3 separate regions of the Homo sapiens genome follow, and all the other regions are linked to region 1. Evidence: promoter capture Hi-C in 16 types of primary human blood cells and fetal thymus (Javierre and others, 2016). All regions are on one chromosome and are shown on one strand. Each heading gives the region's core, a stretch centred on a gene start or on the middle of the fragment in contact. The rest is flanking DNA. Distances are from core to core; before and after follow the strand shown.

Region 1 (4,099 bases), core at 1,024-3,523:
TTTTTTTTTTTTCTTTTTTTGAGAGAGTCTTGCTCTGTTGCTCAGGCTAGAGTGCAGTGGCACCATCTCCGCTCACTGCAACCTCTGCTTCCCAGGTTCAAGCGATTCTCCTGCCTCAGCCTCCTGAGTAGCTGGGATTACAGACATTTGTCACCACATCCGGCTAACTTTCGTATTTTTAGTAGAGATCTAAAATCGCATTTTTAGTAGAGTAGCACATCTGATTAGTATCTGTGCTGGCAATCAACCTGGAGAAAGGAGGCCGGGACACAGGCATCTGTCCTCTTGCCTCCACATCTACTGGGATGGCAGGAGTGATGTTTTCACTTCTGCCTCTCAGCGATGGAGTTCCTCTGTGTCCTCATCCACTCCCTTCCAAACAGCAGGGACCCTGTACAAGATAGGGTCCCAGGAAGTAAATTAACTTACCAATGAGCAAGGGCCAAAGATGCTGCCCACTTTGTGCTAATAAAATCTGCTCATGATGGTTTCTGCAAATGATGCCTATCCTCCCCGCTTCACCTCCTTTCTCCTAACACTAAGAAAGAAGACATTGCCCAGATAAGTGCCTGACGTTTATTTTCATCCTCTGCTTTAAAATAGGGCACCATGAAAAACAGTCCTGTCAGCTGTGGAAGCCGTTGGCATTGGAGAGTGAAGACAACCTCCCGTCCTTTAAAATATCACATAAGAAAGGCCCAAAGTCTCCCAGTGAGAGAGGGAAGAGCTTTCTTTGGCAGTAACCGAGGAAACGGAGTGGAAGCATGAGCTCTTCCTGGAACAGGATTCATATCATCAAGAACTACGGATTTGCTGGGCCAGGCATGGTGGCTCACGCCTGTAATCCCAGCAATTTGGGAGGCTGAGGCAGGTGGATCGTTTGAGGTCAGGAGTTAGAGACCAGCCTTGCTAACATGGTGAAACCCTGTCTCGACTAAAAAAAATACAAAAATTAGCCGGGTGTGGTGGTGAATGCCTGTAATCCCAGCTACTCGAGAGGGTGAGGCAAGAGAATTGCTTGAACCTGGGAGATAGAGGTTGCAGTGAGTCGAGATTGTGCCACTGCACTCCAGCCTCGGTGACAGGGCAAGACTGTCTCAAAGAAAAAAAAAAAAGGAACTATGGATTTGCTAAGGCCAATAGTCTCTCTACCCCTTAGTAAAATGTGTTTTGGTATAAAAATCCAGATAATTGAACCATTGCCATTAGATGTTTCGAGGTTTCTATTGACAATGTGGAGGTCTTATCATTTAGATTTCAACACTTTTATTTTTAGTTTTTAGAGACGGGGCCTTGCTCTGTTGCCCAGGCTAGAGTACGATGTAGTGATCACGGCTCACTGCAGTCTTGAACTCACTGGCTCAAGCAAGCCTCCCACCTCAGCTTCCCAAGTAGCTGGGACAGGCGTGTGCCACTGTGCCTGGCTAGGTTTTGTATTTTTTGTAGAGATGGGGTCTTGCTATGTTGCCTAGGCTGATCTCAAACTCCTGGGCTCAAGAAATCCTCCCACCTTGGCCTCCCAAAGTACTGAGATCACGGTGTGAGCCACCATGCCTGACCACTTTCAACACTTATATTGTTGGGGTGAAACTGAAACATATGAGGATTTGTTCAAAGTACATGTAGAGAAGGCAAAATTCCACACTGATTCTTCCTGCCTTGGACTGGATGTGTTGTGCAGAGTGAGGGTGGAAAATGAGCCAGTGGTCCTGAACTAATAAAATAAGTCTCCCTGGGGGACAGGTATTTGGCTTCCCATTCCACAGGATGGGGTAGATGTGGCTTATGGAACCAGGATTATTCACAAAGAGGTTGTTCTCCTGTATGTAAAGGCTGGAAGAGCCGTGTACTTGGATGTGTCTGCATGGGGGAGGGCACAGGCTGGGCTGGTGCGCCTGGGAGGTGGGGGAGGTGGGGAAAGAGGCTGTCTAGCAGGAGCTGAACATTTGACATTGTGGGACACTTTGCAGAGGAGGCTAACATGGTTTCGAGGAGATACTTAGGAGCTGGTCACAATGGGTGAGTCGTAAAGAGAATGTTGGAGCTGGGGGATCCTGGAGAAAGATGATAAGATGGTTGATTCACAGAACCCAGGCTGGACGGGACTTGTGGCGAGCAGTCCAGCACAGCCTCACAGTGCAGAGCATGAGCTTTGGAGCCTGCCCCCACCCTAGCTTTGTGACCTTAAGTGAGCTACATAGCTTCTCATGTGTAAACTACTCATCATAATGGTTCTGACCTCAGTGGTTTGTTGTGTTCTAGGAAATGATGCCAGTGAATGCGTAGTCCCAGCCTCAGCACAGGGGAGCCACCTTGAAGCTCTCAAATATCACTGTTGTGAATACAGAGAGGGAAAACCAACTGTAACGTGCCACCCAAATGTAAGTTTTACTCATATTTTGATGTTAGGATGGATAGCTTGGAAAAAGTTGGAGGGTACGGCCTTTACTATGAGGCATCTATGAAGGATCAGGAATGGATGTAGACAAGGAACTAGGAATGGAAAGTGTTAAAGCTGGAGCCTCTGGAAAACCAGAAATGAGGCTGGGCACTCAGGAAGAAACAAGTGAAGGTGATGCTAATGGTAAGTAGGGGAGGAAAGAGGGTTGCCTTAAAGACCTATGCAGTTAGGGAGCGGGCAGGGTGTTGAACCAAGAAGGGAAAGTTGTAGCTTAAGAACATGTATACAGAAGATACGTGTAACCACACGCTGTTTGTCCTTCTGCTGAATGAGTTTTTCAGATTAATACATCATTCATCAGACTTCATTCGTGATCTCGAAGAGTGACATCAGTCTTCCTTGGAATATGAAGAGAATTTCTTTGGTTCTTCTTTTGCATTTCTATTTGATTTATTTTATTTTATTTTATTTTATGTTTTTTGGTACAGAAAGCTCATTACTAGTCCTGTCCAGCAACGTGCCTCTCCTGGCCCTAGAGTTCTTGGAAATAGCCCAGGCCAAAGAGAAGGCCTTTCTCCCCATGGTCAGCCACACGTTCCACATGCGCACAGAGGAGTCTGATGCCTCACAGGAGGGCGATGACCTACCCAAGTCCTCAGCAAACACCAGCCATCCCAAGCAGGATGACAGCCCCAAGTCCTCAGAAGAAACCATCCAGCCCAAGGAGGGTGACATCCCCAAGGCCCCAGAAGAAACCATCCAATCCAAGAAGGAGGACCTCCCCAAGTCCTCAGAAAAAGCCATCCAGCCCAAAGAGAGTAACATCCCCAAGTCCTCAGCAAAACCCATCCAGCCCAAGCTGGGCAATATTCCCAAGGCCTCAGTGAAGCCCAGCCAGCCCAAGGAGGGTGACATCCCCAAGGCCCCAGAAGAAACCATCCAATCCAAGAAGGAGGACCTCCCCAAGTCCTCAGAAGAAGCCATCCAGCCCAAAGAGGGTGACATCCCCAAGTCCTCAGCAAAACCCATCCAGCCCAAGCTGGGCAATATTGCCAAGACCTCAGTGAAGCCCAGCCAGCCCAAGGAGAGTGATATCCCCAAGTCCCCAGAAGAAACCATCCAGCCCAAGGAGGGTGACATCCCCAAGTCCTCAGCAAAGCCCATCCAGCCCAAGCTGGGCAATATTCCCAAGGCCTCAGTGAAGCCCAGCCAGCCCAAGGAGGGTGACATCTCCAAGTCCCCAGAAGAAGCCATCCAGCCCAAGGAGGGTGACCTCCCCAAGTCCCTAGAGGAAGCCATCCAGCCCAAGGAGGGTGACATCCCCAAGTCCCCAGAAGAAGCCATCCAGCCCAAGGAGGGTGACATCCCCAAGTCCCTAGAGGAAGCCATCCAGCCTAAGGAGGGTGACATCCCCAAGTCCCCAGAAGAAACCATCCAGCCCAAGAAGGGTGACATCCCCAAGTCCCCAGAAGAAGCCATCCAGCCCAAGGAGGGTGACATTCCCAAGTCTCCAAAACAAGCCATCCAGCCCAAGGAGGGTGACATTCCCAAGTCCCTAGAGGAAGCCATCCCACCCAAGGAGATTGACATCCCCAAGTCCCCAGAAGAAACCATCCAGCCCAAGGAGGATGACAGCCCCAAGTCCCTAGAAGAAGCCACCCCATCCAAGGAGGGTGACATCCTAAAGCCTGAAGAAGA
Region 2 (4,099 bases), core at 587-3,086, 650 kb after region 1:
CTTGAAGAAATGCCAATTATCTAAATTTTGAATAATAGGAAAGTGAGGTTGGATGTAGTGGCTCATGCCTGTAATCCCAGCACTTTGGGAGGCCAACGTGGGTGGATTACCTGAGATCAGGAGTTCGAGACCAGCCTGGCCAACATGGTGAAACCCTGTCTCTTCTAAAAATACAAAAATTAGCTGGGCATGGTGGCGGGCGCCTGTAATCCCAGCTACTTGGGAGGCTGAGGCAGGAGAATTGCTTGAACCCAGGAGGCAGAGTTTGCAGTGAGCCGAGATCGTGCCATTGCACTCCAGCCTGGGCAACAGAGCGAGACTCTGTCTCAAAGTAATAATAATAATAGGAAAGTGTTTAAATAAATTATGATGCTTCCTTATTATAAACTATTATATATCCATTGAAATAAAGCTTTTCTGGCCAAACATGCAACTGAATTGGTATTTGGTGCCGCAAGTTAGGTTATTAACCACAGTTCCTTTGAAACCATAGAGTTTCTCTTACGGCCAAAGAAGCTGGGGATCTGCTCTGGTCTTCTTATGTCTCATTTTCCTCTGAGAATTAGGAAGCTCCCAGGTGGCTGTTACATTCTTAGTGTACTTCATGCCTGTTTAAGAAATGCTCAAACACTCTAATTCTCACAGCCTCAGTTTATATTACAACAGCTGTACTAAGACTTGAATCTTCATCAAAAGTTATTATTCAGGCATCATTTCCATTGCTCAAGTATCTATTTAATTTGAGGGTTGGAAAGGCACTACTTTGAATGAAAGAAAATTAACTTAGTGGATAGGGAAACAGATGAAGGAAAATGCTTTCTGGCATTGTCTTATATTTAAATTAAATGCCTTTGGACACTGTTGGGAGCACAGGACCCCTGAGCTACGTGGTCCACAATTCTGTGGGCTAAAATTTCTACCAATTTGTCATACAAACCTTCACACTGATTCACCAGAAAGGCTTGGGGAGTGCCATTTTGTAGACATATGCACAAGGGAAGCCACAGAAACTTGTTGGATCAACCTTTGGTTCTGTCACTTGATGACTGCTGTGATTTCATATCCTGTTTGCTCCACTGGCACACAGCCATTGAAAATAGGCATATTTATGGTGGAGGGTATAACTTTCAAGTAGGCAGCTCATCATTTTTTATGGAGAAGTATCAATATTGTGGTTGGACCTCTTACTCACAGCCTCACTTGATTTTACGCAAAAACAGGAAGATGTAGTTGCTAATTTTTAAACAACAAATAGGACTCGGATGCCATTTTTACTGCCTTCTAATGTATTTTTTGCTCTATCTACTGGGTAAAACTCATGACGAATAGTTCCTGTGGTTTTTTTATCCTCCCAAATGCTTTTATGTTGTAGATTCACATTATATATGTAATTAGTGGGTAGGTATATTTGGGGAGGAAATACAGTTGACCCTTGAACTACCCAAGGGTTGGGATGCCAACCCCTTGTGCAGTTGAAACTCTACATATAACTTTTTACTCCCCAAAAACTTTACTAATAGCCTGTTTTTGTTTTTTTTTTTTGAGACAGGATCTTGCTCTGTTGCCCAGGCTGGATTGCAGTGGCACAATCATGGCTTACTGCAGCCTCAACCTCCTGGGCTCAGGCGATCCTCCCACCTCAGCCTCCTGAGTAGCTGGGACTATAGGTGCATGTCACCATGCCCTGCTAATTTTTTAATTTTTTTGGTAGAGACTGGTTCTCGCTGTTTTTCCCAGGCTGGGCTCAAACTCCTGGGCTCAAGTGATACTTCTGCCTCAACCTCCCAAAGTGCTGGGATTATAGGCGTGAGCCACTACCCTACTACTGACTGGAAGTCTTATAAATAATATAAACAGTCAGTTAGTACATATGTTGTATGTTGTATGGAATATGTTTTATACTGTATTCTTAGAATAAAGCTAGAGAAAAGAAAATATTAAGAAAATCGTAAGGAAGAGAAAATATATTTAGTGTTCTTTAAGTGGAAGTAGAGCATCATAGGGCTCTTCATCCTCATCATAGTCTTCACGTTTGGGCTGAGGAGGAGGAAGAGGAGGAGGAGGAAGAAGAGGGGTTGGTTTTGCTGTCTCAGGTGGCAGAGGAGCAAGACAGTCTGCGTATAATTGGACCAGCACAGTTTAAATCTCTGCTGTTCAAGGTTCAGTTGTATTCTTTAAAAGCCAAAATGACCCTCAGGACTAATGTGTCTGAGAGAGATTTTGTTAGGTTTACCTCCCCTGTTCATTCAGATATTTTTCAGCAGATATTGTAGACTCGGATTCTTTCATTGACTTTTGGTTTTATAACAAAAAAAGTATTGTTTTTATTTTTTCACTGAGGTTTGGAAATGCATTAGCATTTCATTCTGCTTGAGTGAATGATAGCAGTCTTATTTCATACAGTGTCTTTCAGTCTGTGTTATTGTTAGTTTCCATAGCTAAATAATAAAGTTATGTTTTGGGGTTGGCGAAAATGAGACCAGTTTTGTTAAGGGTATCCTAATGAATTTGTCAACTTAGCAAGGGACTGAATAGGCAGATTTGTAAACCACCCATGAGATGTCAGTGTGGAGCCTACCTTAAGATACAGCAAGTCAACACTAAATAAGTTGCTTATGTAAACTTTATAACTAGCTTTTAAACGGTGTTTTTTTTTAAGTTTATTTTTAAAATGTTTGATTTGGAGATATTAGACATTAGGACTGCATGATCCTGAGATGTGTAGATTAATAGTAAGATACAGAATTTATTAGTCATGGAAGAGGGTTGCAAACTCAGATGAACTCAGGGTGTAGAGGAATAACTAAAATGAATGAGCAGCTGGGACGTGGAGGGCATTTGGAAGTGAAGAGCGGGGAGAAGCGCCAGGAGGTGCATGCTCATGTGGCGGGACAGTGCTGCCCAGCCCCAGCCTGTTGCCATACAGGGATGCAAGCCTGCTGATGCCGTAGCTTTTGATATTTTTTTGAAGAAAGCCATAAAACAATTTTCATGAAAGTATCTAATTTAAAAATACTGCATGGATCAAGCAAAACACACTTGGAAGTGAGATAGAGTCATTGGGCTGCCAGTTTGTGATCCTTGGCATAGGTCTTGTATGTAGTAGGGACTTGGTAAATGTTTAAAGAATAAGAAGTGCTTAGAAAACAGTAAAGAGCAAGGTTTTTGGTTTTTTCTATTTTCATAGATTTCCCAAAGGTCTGTGAAGTGATGATGAACTCTGTGTAGAAATTACCTGGTACCTTTTTGATTGGGTTTAATGAAGCTTGATTGGGAGAGTAATCATGTGAAGCATTTCATTTTAAATATCTTTATTGCTATACAATGTATTTGAGTCATTTACTTTCATGAATTAGGGATAAAATAATTGTATTTCATATCCTTTGCCCACTTTTTGATTGGGTTTTTTTTTTCTTGTAAATTTAAGTTCCTTGTAGAAAAAGAAGACATACAGCCAAGAAACATGAAAAACAGCTCATCATCATTGATCATTAGAGAAATGCAAATCAAAACCACAATGAGATCTCACGCCAGTCAGAATGGTGATGATTAAGAAGTCAGGAAACAATAGATGCTGGCCAGGCTGTGGAGAAATAGGAAAGTTTTTATACTGTTGGTGGGAGTGTAAATTAGTTCAACCGTTGTGGAAGACAGTGTGGGGATTCCTCAAGGATCTAGAACCAGAAATACCATTTGACCCAGCAATCCCATTACTGGGCATATGCCCAAAGGAACATAAATCATTCTATAGAAACGTATGTTTATACAGTAAACACGTATGTTTATTGTAGCACCATTTACAATAGCAAAGACATGGAACCAACCCAAATGCCCATCAGTGATAGACTGGATAAAGAAAATGTGGTACATATACACCATGGAATACTATGCAGCTGTAAAAAAGAATGAGATCATGTCCTTTGCAGGGACATGGATGAAGCTGGAAGCCATCATTCTTGGCAAACTAACAAACACAGGAACAGAAAACCAAACACCGCATGTTCTCACTCATACGTGGGAATTGAACCACAAGGACACATGGACACAGGGAGGGGAACATCACACTCCTGGGCCTGTCGGGGGCTGGGGAATAAGGGGA
Region 3 (4,099 bases), core at 976-3,475, 630 kb after region 1:
GGGTTGGAAACCTAGGCTTCTCCAGTTGGTAAATTTTTCTTCCATTAGTAAAGAAGGACTAAAACAAAGAGGTGCGTGAGTGCACTGTGACATTGGTGCTCTAAGAAGACCGTGCTGCAGAGGAGAGGATGCATTGAACAGAGGCCAGGTTGGTGGCAGATTGACTAATCAGGAAGAGCAAGTTGTCCAGCAGGCCGGGCTAGAGAAGGTGTTGACAGCAGCCAGGATGGGGAGCAGTGGACTTCAGCAGGAGAGGTTAAGGAATCTTGGGATTCTGAATCCTTCAAGTTCGCTCCATTGAAAGTACTTTATTTCCTAATATTATCAGTGTCTCAATGGTCCCGAGATGTCTACAATCATCATTAGAAGTGTCTCCTAAATACCTGTGCCCCAAAGAGAAGGTCACTTGGGAGTAGGGAGACCATAAGTGCTTGAGAGGCTCTCAACCTGGCTGGACTGCTCTCCGTGCAGTCTGGACATCAACAGCTACATTCAAAGATCTCTTAGGTCACCTTGCCTTCTGTAAACCCAATTGTGCTTAGTTGCCTACTGAGTTTAGGTAACCAGGGAGATTTATAGGGGAGGAAAAAATACAAGAACAAGGTGGAGCTGCAATGTTTCTGGAATGCAGGGACAGCATGTCTCGTTTACTGAGAGGACACATGTTTAACGGCAGTGCAGGCACTGGCAGGGTTTTAGTGGCTCTCCTGCACCTGACTGGCTTGGGCTAGGAAGGATTTGCCATCCCAAAGCCCGTGTACTCCCACGCAAGTCAGCTGTGAGGGATTTCAATGCCTTCTGTGAGCTCAGAAAGGATTCTCTGATCACATTTCTAATAAACGCTCTTGTGGGAAGATCATGAGAACAACAGTACAAATGATGGCTCCTATTTACTGAATGTTCCCTATGTGTCCATTCTGTGTAGGCGCCTTGGAGGTATTATTTGTAAAACTGACAGTAGCTCCACAACATAAGCATTTAGTATGTTTATCTATTGCTGCTTAACAAGCCATCTCAAAGCTCAATGGATTAAAACAGTATTATTGTATCTCCTGATGATGTGGATGGAAAATTTGGACAGGGCACAGTCAGAGGAGCTCCACTCAGCTTCACGGTTGGAAGCTTTGCTGGGACGGCTCTAATGGCTGCAGCTGGGAGATGCGGGGCAGCTGGCCATTGCTTCTCTGCTCATAGACCTCTACCGGGGTGGCTTGAGCTTCCTCACATCATGGCAGCCTCAAGGGAGTTGCACTGTTCAGGGTTCCAAGAGCTATTTCATGTTTTGAGAGATGGGAAGTGGGAGCTGCCTGTGCCTTGAAGATTGGGCCCTGAGACTGGCACAGTATCACATCCTTGTTCTTTTGGTCAAAGCAGTCACAAAACCCACCTGCATTCAAGAGGATGGGACAGAGTCCCCCTCTCAATGGAAGAGGGTCAGAGATTTGGCTGCCATTTTTAATCCACCACATTATTATTCTTCCCATTTTATAGGAGAAGAAACTGAAGCTCAAAGAAACCAGATAATATATGTCTTTAAATAACATAAGAAATACTGCTGAGGTTTGAAAGTATGACTGACTCTAATCCATTTTTCTTTCTAGTATACAGCCCCGCTCTCTTAAAATGTGGACATTTGATCTTCTAAGATAAGACTTTTTGAGCCACAAGCTACTCTTCTGATTGGATGTAGAACAAAACATAGCAAGTCATCGTCCACGTTCTTTCTAAACTTTGCATCGTTGAATGAAGAGGCCCTATCTAATAAGCTGTAGAACTGAACACTCCTCTTCAGTTTGAGAGGCTGTTCAAGGTAAAAGAGAGGGAAAAATGGAAGTGAATAAAATCACAAATTTAAACGATAAATACCTGGCTTGGGGAAGCTTTTTTCCCCAGAGGATAGAAATATATTTACATTATGAAATAAGTTGGAATCCAATGGAAACCCCTTGTTATTATTAGATTTCCTCTTGAGAAGGATTTATAAATGAAAACACAACTTGCTATTTTAGTATTTTGTTTTTCAGGGAAGAAAAACCCTTTGCAAAAACAAATTTAGAAGAAAAAACTTATCCATTTCAAGCTCTTGTTTATTTTCTTATTTACCAGGCTAAAACTGTCTTCTTTCATCTCTGATTATGTTGGGAGCTGGAGAAAAGAGGGTTTTTATTTTGTTTTGTTTGCTTTTTTCCTTTTCTCTAAATCTGGAAGGTCTCTTTTCATTTGTGGGCAGTGCTAAACCTTTCCTTATCCACAACTGCGTTTCTGAATCCACAGCCTCCTCCAGCCGTAACTGTGACCCAAGGGCTCCACGCAGTGGGGGATAGGAAATGAAGGATGAGGGCAGTCACATGTGAAACGGCTGCAGTGTTCATCTGTGATCTGGTGGCCCCACTGAACAACAGTGGCCATGACCCCGCTGTGCACCTGCTAGCACACAGCTCCATGCTCCTTTGCCATGTGTCCCTCCATTAGGCTGTGATTCCTCCTCCTCAGCTCCACAGGAATCTGGAAAATAAGGGTCCTGTGGCTGCTTTTGCAATCCTAGTACACTTTGAGAACGTCATGTTCCAGTAAGCTTTATATAACGTTCTAGACCATTAGAGCCTTTTCAGCTTCCTTATTAACATTTATTCATTTCTAATTACACGAGTAGAGGGAAGTTGCAAGAAATGTGTCCCTGAAGATTTTCAAACTTAATGCAACCATTGCATAATTTTAATCCAATCTTCACAAAGGGAGTCATGTGTTGCTTTTCTAGCCAAGTCACCCTTGGCCCCTGCAACCTCGTCACCTCCCCATTCTCCCCTGGAATGTGGGGCCAGGCGCCCGCATACTCTGCCTCACAAATTTGCTATTCCTTCTTTATCGGCAACTATCTTTGTCCAGATATCCCAGGTCTCAGGCCACCACTCCTTCAGAGCTTTATTTCATTGTCACCTACCTGGTGAAGAAACTCACCCCACACTCACGGGTGCCCTCCCATTCCCACATCCTGCTTTGTTTTCCTGAGTGTTGACCCCCTCTAGCACTGTGTCTACACCGCCTTAGCCAGTTTCCTACTGGACTCCACAACCCCACCCATATGCCCTGTGCTAGAATGTCAGCTCTGTGAATCCCTGCTGCATTCAGGGCTGTCTCCCAGAGCCTAGAACAGTGCCTGCATGGAGAAACCATTCCACACATACTTGTTGAATGAGTGCCTAAAGAATGAATAGCATAAACCCAGTCCACAGCTCTTTATTCCTGGCAGCTTCCAAACGTGCACTTCTTGAGGAATTCTTAATTTGGAAGACATGTTATTTAAAAAAATTCATTAATGCAGTTTGTGAATGAGTAATTCACAAACTTCATTAATGAGTCATGTTTTATGTTGTATTCTTTCAATTTTGCCTACTTTATATTTGTACAAAATGTAACTGCGTGAATATATCCTCCTTGAAAGAAAATGATTGCTGTATATCTATGGGATGTGGTTTTCAAGAGAGAACATTTATAGGTTGGCACTAGGCTATCTGCAAGTGGTCTAATGAAATACATGACGGGTTTCCACTAAGCCAATTCAGTGTGTTGGTTTTATCTTTTATTCAAAGATAGCTTGCAAAGGAAGATCTGTATTTTTCTCTCTCTTTAAAAATAATATTCATCAAAACGGTTGTGTTCGTTAGAGTGGATTTAACAGAGATCTGTTGTTAAACATTTACAATGCTTCATCTCTTTCCAACATTACTGTACTCGGACAATGCTGCCTCACTTTGTGTACAAAACAGTGAGAGAGATCGCTTTTATGTGGAAAGTTCAGTTATGAATGCGAAATGTTGCCAGAATCTGACTGTAATCCCAAGAGGCAGAAACTAACCACTTTTGTTTGGACGGCTTGCAGCTTGTAAAGGCACGTGCAGGCAGCGCCACCATGTGTTTTCTGAAGAGACCCATAAGGCTACGCGGGAGAAGGAATGAACGCCAGGACTCTCCCCAGCCAACGTATACCTAAGTGGGACTTCTCAGTATAATATGCTTGGCGCATCTGTTAGGGGTGGCCCTTTCTCAGCCATTTGACAACTTACTTCAGTCAAACCTAATAAACTTCCAACTCTCATTT

The links. The method cuts DNA at HindIII sites, captures the fragments that hold promoters and counts their contacts. A CHiCAGO score of 5 or more calls a contact.
Region 2: a contact is called between a fragment that was not itself captured here and the fragment with the promoter of TXNDC2 in region 1, in 2 of 17 cell types (naive CD4 T cells and naive CD8 T cells). The highest score is 5.8, in naive CD4 T cells.
Region 3: a contact is called between a fragment that was not itself captured here and the fragment with the promoter of TXNDC2 in region 1, in 1 of 17 cell types (naive CD4 T cells). The highest score is 5.1, in naive CD4 T cells.

The regions. Positions count from the first base shown.
Region 1 is chr18:9,883,700-9,887,798 of GRCh38, forward strand. It overlaps TXNDC2 (thioredoxin domain containing 2), which reads left to right and starts at 2,274. Exons shown (of 2, transcript NM_032243.6): 1 at 2,274-2,381; 2 at 2,890-4,099. The coding sequence starts at 2,982. The HindIII fragment of the contact is 12,861 bases long and covers 1-4,099 here.
Region 2 is chr18:10,535,433-10,539,531 of GRCh38, forward strand. All of the region lies in intron 5 of NAPG (NSF attachment protein gamma), which reads left to right. Among named protein-coding and RNA genes, the nearest start is that of NAPG, 11 kb to the left of the region's middle. The HindIII fragment of the contact is 2,853 bases long and covers 411-3,263 here.
Region 3 is chr18:10,516,375-10,520,473 of GRCh38, forward strand. No RefSeq gene overlaps it. Among named protein-coding and RNA genes, the nearest start is that of NAPG, 7.6 kb to the right of the region's middle. The HindIII fragment of the contact is 695 bases long and covers 1,879-2,573 here.